2 separate regions of the Homo sapiens genome follow, and region 1 is linked to region 2. The links are contacts of gene promoters, found by promoter capture Hi-C in human tissues and cell types (Jung and others, 2019). All regions are on one chromosome and are shown on one strand. Each heading gives the region's core, a stretch centred on a gene start or on the middle of the fragment in contact. The rest is flanking DNA. Distances are from core to core; before and after follow the strand shown. Region 1 has its middle 35 kb from the start of PRICKLE2. Region 2 holds the start of PSMD6 (proteasome 26S subunit, non-ATPase 6).

Region 1 (3,532 bases), core at 294-2,793, 240 kb before region 2:
CTTCATTAGATGTCCAATCGGCTTCTCAGACTTGCTGTGTCAAAACATAGCGCTAACTTTTTCCTTTCCTTAAGCCTTGACTGTGTCAACAAATGGCACCTCCAGCTACCCAGTTGCTTGAGCTAAAAACTTTTGGCACCTTTGATTGTTCTCTTTCTCTTACCCTCTCCCCATATCCTATCCAATGGGAATAAGTCCTTTCAGTTCTACTTCAAAAAAATAGCCCAAATTGTAGCAGGTGAGGGTGAGAGGGAGGGAGGACTGACTAGAAAGGAGCTTGAGGTAACTTCCTGGGGTGCTGAAAATGTTTGATATCTTGATAGAGTGTGCGTTACATGGATATAGGCATTTTTCAAAATTGATGAGACTCTACATATAAGGTCTATGGATTTTGCTGTATGTAAATCACACCTCTGTAAAAAATATGATAGAAAAGATACATATCTCAAACCTCCACAGGTCCAACTTTAGTCCATGCTGCCATCATTTTTCACCTTGATTACTTGACAACCTTCCCAAACACCTAGTGGTTCTGAAGCTTAAATCACATCATAACATGACCCTGTTTAACACCTTCAGACAGCTTCTCATTGCAATAAGGACAAAACCCAAACACTTTGCCGTGACCTGTGAGACTCTCCCACCTTAACAAGTTCTAGCCCGTGCCTACCTCTCAAGGGCATCTTCCTACCTGGCTACTGGCACCCGTGCTTCAGTCACAGGCCAGCCCAAGTTTCTGCCTACCTCTGGGCCTTTGTGCTTGCTGTTCTTTCTGCTTGGAATGCTCTTCCCATAGATCTTTGCCTGGCTAGGAGCTTCTCACCATTGAGATCTTAGCTTAAATGTCCTTCTGTCAAGAGAACTTCCTGCCTAGCCTTGCTCCATGACTACACTCCACAGCCCACATTTTTCTTGGCCACATTATCTTACCAACTTTTCTCCAAAGCACTTTCCAAGATCCAAAATATTTTATTTTCAATATGACAAGCCTGTCCCTGTCCCTTCTTGTCCCTTAAAGGCAAGGATTGCATCATTTAAATCCCATCTTCAGTGACAGTACCTTCCTTCTAGGAGGGCTCCCTAAACAAATTTTGACTGACTGATTAACTGATACCTGGGCCAGTGTCTAACACTGCAAGAAAATTATTAGGAAATTAAAAATTTTTAAGTTATTTTTATTACTCTCCTCCTTTCCTCATCTCCCTCTTACTTCCTGGGGGTTGTAGAGATTAATGTGCTTCCCAATGCTGCTAAGTCCATACACTTCACATTTCTGTGCCTTCTTTTTCTGTATTAATTGTAAACCAGATCAATTATAGTTGCCCCTTGTGGAGGTCTGTAAACCCCTTGGAGTGAGACATTATTTCAGCACTCTGTACAAGTGAGGCATGAGTGTCTCATCACCTTTTAAAAATTGCAACCCTAGCTAATGGTTTTCTCTGAAGACCCCAAGCTTCTGAACTCTCCTGCCTAGGAAGTCTGATCAGATGCAGCTGTCCTGGGAATTGATTTGGGATCCAAAAGTTTTTAAGATCTACTACAACTCCCACAAATGGCTTTGGAACTCAGAAAGCAGTAAACATATATATTTTTTAATCTGTCAGAGCTGATCTTTCCCAGGGAACAAAGGTTGAACTGTATGTTTAGTGCCCCAGACTTGCTCTTCTCTCTGGCCCCAAAAGCCACAACCTCTCACTGAATGTTATTGGTGGAGTACTAATTTAAAAATCAGAGCAAAGGGTTGCGTATTCTAAAAGTGGAAAAAAACATCAACAGATATTGGCAGGGAAGAGGATGTCCTTCCCCGGACGAGAGGAGAGTAATGCAGGCATTTCTGAAAACCCATAAGCCATGGTTTATTTATTTGGACTGTTCATTGAGTTACTAAGACAGGAATAGCACAGAGGTTTTATTTGCCTGCAGCTCTGGTTAAAAAGAATTAAAGGGGCCCCTTCAGGGCTTAGGGAAATAGTGCTGCGATTGATTAGCAGTGTCTGCCATGGGCAAGAACTGTTGTTGTACATAAAGAATTAGAGAATGTTAGATTTGGAATGAACCATGGAGATTATCTAGTGCAACTCTTGCCCTCGTAGCTGCTGCACTGTGTTAGGGGGCTTTAGAAGAATAATCATGAGCTTGGCAAAGTGATAACTCTTAGCTTTTCAGGCCTTTGTTCCCTCTTGGGTCCCGTTAGTGCGTTCAGTGTGGTGTACTGCAGCACTTCCTGAGAATGTGCCAGGGGAGCCTCACAAGAGAGTTCTGAGGCTGGTCAAGTTTGGGAAAGTCTATGGTACCATATCTCCTTCTCAAAGATTCATAAGGGACAATAAGCATGACATAGGGCCTGAGAAGTCCAATCATAAAGAAACCCACTTAACATTGTTTTCCAAACCTGGTGATTCTGGCGTGTTTTTCAAGGACACCTGTTGCCATTTTGTAGAACACTCTCTTTAGATGCTGCTGTGTTATGCTTAGGGAGAGTGTTCATTTCCTAGGGCTGCTGTACCAAATTACCACAATCTTGGTGGCTTAAAACCACAGAAATTTATTCTCTTACTGTTCTGGAAGCCAGAAGTTTGAAAGTCAGGGTGTTGGCTGTCTCTGGGAGAGAGTCTGTCCCGGCTTCTTGTGGCTGCCAACAATCCATCCTTGGCTTTCCATGGTTACAGCCGCATCACTCCAGTAGCTGCCTCCATCTTCACATTGCTTTCCCCTCTGTGCATGTGTCAAATTTCCCTCTGCCTCTCTAAGGATACTTGAGGTGACATCTAGAGCCCACTTGTATAATCTACATAATCTCATAATCTCTTCCTTTCAAAACCTTCAATTTAATTATATCTGCAAGGGCTTCTTCTTCAAATATGTTATGATTTTCAGGTTCTGGGGATCAGGACATGGACATATATTTGGGAGGCCATTTTGCAACCTACCACGGAGGCACATTGACTCAAGCATTAGGAGACTTGGATCAAGTTCTCACTTAGCTACGAGCTCCTCGGTCCCAGGAAGAGGCAGCAAGGGTGTTTAAACCAGGAGTCAGGCCTATTTCCTCACCCCTCAGAACTTCAGTGTCCTCAGCTGTTAGTGGGATATACCTGTATACTTCCTAGGCGTATTATAAAATTAAATGAGATAAAACTTGTGGTGCACTTAGCACAAGTGAATATCAAGTAAATATTGGCTTACTGTTATATATTTTTACTACTGCTGTGTTGCTGCCACTGTTATCATGTTCCTTCTCTTTGAGTCTTATTGTCAAATGAAGTGATTAAGGCTAACTCTGGCCCAAGAATTGTCAAGGATCCTTTCAAAATTAGCATACTGTGGGTTCCAGATCTCTCAAAGGTCACATTACATCTTCTAGATCTTTTCACTGAAGTGTAATATATCCATATAGGAGAGTGAACTTATCATAGGTGTTCAGCTGAATGAAATTTCATAAGCTAAATATACCAGTGTTACCAGCACACAGAATCAAGAAATAAAATATTACCAGTGCCCCACAATCCCTTTTTGCACCCCTACTTAATTC
Region 2 (3,163 bases), core at 230-2,729:
GTAACCATGCAATCATGTTTGTTGAATGACTAAATGAAAGAATTTTAGAAAGTTTTTTACCAAAAGTTTAGCAGTGGTGGAGAGCTATTTAATAGTATTTTTTTTTTACTCTTCATATTTTCTCTATCATTTGAGTTGTCTTCAAAATGCTTGTTTCATTTTTATAGAAACAAATAATAGATTTAAATTATGTGATGATGCCTACTGCCTGTGAGATGTGGCAGTCTCACCTGTTTCAGCAGCTGTGTAAACTGGTTCAGCTCTTTTGGAAAACCATTTAACATTAAATATCCCCAAGTCACAAAATCCTTCTTCCCTTTGTCCGTTATTCCTTCATGGGATTTTATGCTAAGGAAAAAGATGCAAAACATGAAGTGATCTAGACATCCAAAGTCTTCATCCAAGTTTTTATATTAGGTAAGTAAAAACTCTGGTCAACCTAAAGACACCTCTAACAGAGGGAAGAGTGAAAGTAAATTATGGTAAATCCATTAGATGGAATTTAGGCCAGGCATGGTGGCCCACACCTGTAATCCCAGCACTTTGGACGACTGAGGCGGGGGAATCACTTGAGGTCAGAAGGTCAAGACCAGCCTGGCCAACATGGTGAAACCCCGTCTCTACTAAAAATACAAAAATTAGCCCGGCATGGTGGTGCAGGCCTGTAATCCCAGCTACTTGGGAGGCTGAGGCAGGAGAATCGATTGAAGCTGGGAGGCAGAGGTTGCAGTGAGCCAAGATTGTGCCACTGCACTCCAGCCTGGGTGACAGGGCAAGACTCCGTTTCAAAAAAAAAAGGAATTTAATGTAAAGATTACCACCTCTGAAGATCTGTAGCAATGTGAACAAAAGGAAGCTGAAAATGCAGGCATGTAATGATTTAATTTATGTGTAAACAAAACGATGATGCTGTTGTACTATGACGTAGAATCCTGGGTGCAGTTTTTTTTTCTTCTTAAAACCGCAGAAAGAATGTGGATTTTAGAGTTCTAGATAGGGGTTTTCATTTAGGCCTTGCGACATGGCTGTTACATGACCTTGGTTGGTCTGTTTCCCTAACCTCTTTGTGCCTCATTTGTCTTACCTACTAAATAGGCTAATAGTACTACCTCGCAGCATGAAGATGATTTTAATAAGATGAATGAGAGTAACGACTCGACAAACTATGGTGATTGTTTTTATTAATGCTGTTATTACATTTTCAGTTTTCAAAAAATTTTAAGCTCCCATCAGTTACAAACGGAAAGTAAAATAGCTAAAAAGGGAGTGAGAAAGAGATTCAAGAAATTGGGCTTTTGAGTTGGGCTGCACCCACTCTGGGACTCCGCAGGGGGCCTTGAGGGTGGAAAAGCCCCCGTGACCACACAGGGGCGCAGGCGCCCAGGCCGGGTGAGGCGTTCCCGGAGGTGTCCAGCAGAGGACGCTGCCGGCGGAGACGGGACCGGAAGCCGGGCCGCAGGCGGCCGGGCGTATTCGCCGACTCCTCCCGCTTCCGCTGCCGCAGCCGGTCGTAACCAAGTTGTGTCCTGTCAGCCGCTGTCCCCTTCGCCGCGATGCCGCTGGAGAACCTGGAGGAGGAGGGTCTGCCCAAGAACCCCGACTTGCGTATCGCGCAGCTGCGCTTCCTGCTCAGCCTGCCCGAGCACCGCGGAGACGCTGCCGTGCGCGACGAGCTGATGGCGGCCGTCCGCGATAACAGTGAGGCCCGCACGAGCGCCGAGTCAGCGGCCTAGGCCTGGGCCGTCCCCGCGTTCCGGAGCCTGCGGGGACTTTTTTTGATGGAGCTCCAGACCCCTCTGACGGGGTCTCAGAGACCAGGCCTGGCTTCTCCGGCCCTTAGGGTTTTGCTTTGGTTTGGGGATACCCTGGGGGACCTCGACTTGCCTCAGCGGGGTCTGCATCTCTCTGTGCCGCCTTCCCCTGTAAGGGCAGCTTGGGGGAGAATCGTGAGGCATTAATATTTACCCCTGTGCTAGGCACAGAGTAAAGGCCCCGTGACTTTCTGTCAGTGGGGACTGCTCCCGGGCGCGGGGTATTCCTGTGGGAGAGTTCAGCTTGCCTGTGGAAGGGAAATTTGGGTTCGGTTCTTTCTGGCCCTTCTGTAGTGAATGTGTATGTTTGAACATATGTATGTGAGTATGTGTGTATAAAAAGTCTTTCCCTGTTTGAAGACTTTTGGAACAGAATCCGGCAAGAGCAAACCGAGGATTGCCCTCCCTCCAGCCCTAGTAGAGGTTGGCATTGCCAGGATTGGCCGTCACGCAAACCTCCCACCAGCATACGTTTATGTTTTGCCAAGCCGATTATTAAGCGCCATCGCATGCCTTCCTGTTAGTGGGGAAGAGACTGGTGGATGACTTGTGGCGGGGCGGGGGGTGAAATACGTGGGCAGACTTTGACTTGAGGGCACAAGTGTCCCCACTCACACATCCCTCTTTTTGCATGTTAGACATGGCTCCTTACTATGAAGCCTTGTGCAAATCCCTCGACTGGCAGATAGACGTGGACCTACTCAATAAAATGAAGAAGGCAAATGAAGATGAGTTGAAGCGTTTGGATGAGGAGCTGGAAGATGCAGAGAAGAATCTAGGAGAGAGCGAAATTCGCGATGCAATGATGGCAAAGGCCGAGTACCTCTGCCGGATAGGTGACAAAGTGAGTAGAGATGGTTTTCCCTCTCTGTAGTTAGTATAGGCTAAAATTGGAGACTATTCCAGGTAATCGTTTCTCATTAAAAAAATTAACTTCGTTTTAGAAAAAGTATAAAGGTAATCATGCTTGCTTGTACTGGTGAATCAATGTAAAGATGAAAAAGTCGTCTCCATGAAATGCCTTGTCATTTCCCCAAACAGCAGCTAGGGCTGTATTCTTCCCCATTTCACCCCATGCCGATAAAAACGTAAGTGTACATCTAGAGAATTTTATTTACTGCTTTTACAAAATTGGGATCATTTTCAGCAGTTTTCTCACTTGGTTGGGAAGCACTGGTTCTGGTGTCTTTAGTACTTTACACGAGTAATACTTAGCAGAAACTAAGAAACAGTATAGTAAATGCTGAAGTTCTGTTATCTTTCTTTACTCTGTACCTGCCCAGGGATAGGCTTTTCAGTTCTTTTATTGTGCATTTATGCAAACTTTTTGGTAATTTTTTTTTTTTTTTTGA

The links. Contacts are between HindIII fragments. The study calls those that stand out against the background at their distance.
Region 1: a contact is called between a fragment that was not itself captured here and the fragment with the promoter of PSMD6 in region 2, in 1 of the 25 tissues and cell types used here (IMR-90 fibroblasts).

The regions. Positions count from the first base shown.
Region 1 is chr3:64,258,912-64,262,443 of GRCh38, reverse strand. It overlaps a transcript of PRICKLE2 not described here. Among named protein-coding and RNA genes, the nearest start is that of PRICKLE2, 35 kb to the right of the region's middle. The HindIII fragment of the contact is 3,565 bases long and covers 1-3,325 here.
Region 2 is chr3:64,021,810-64,024,972 of GRCh38, reverse strand. PSMD6 (proteasome 26S subunit, non-ATPase 6) reads left to right here and starts at 1,479. Exons shown (of 8, transcript NM_014814.3): 1 at 1,479-1,698; 2 at 2,450-2,655. The coding sequence starts at 1,554. LOC105377121 (a long non-coding RNA gene) reads right to left here and starts at 898. Exons shown (of 3, transcript XR_940906.3): 1 at 822-898; 2 at 231-348. RefSeq lists a silencer at 1,271-1,370 and enhancers at 933-1,554, 1,521-1,870, 1,555-2,177. The HindIII fragment of the contact is 10,487 bases long and covers 1-3,163 here.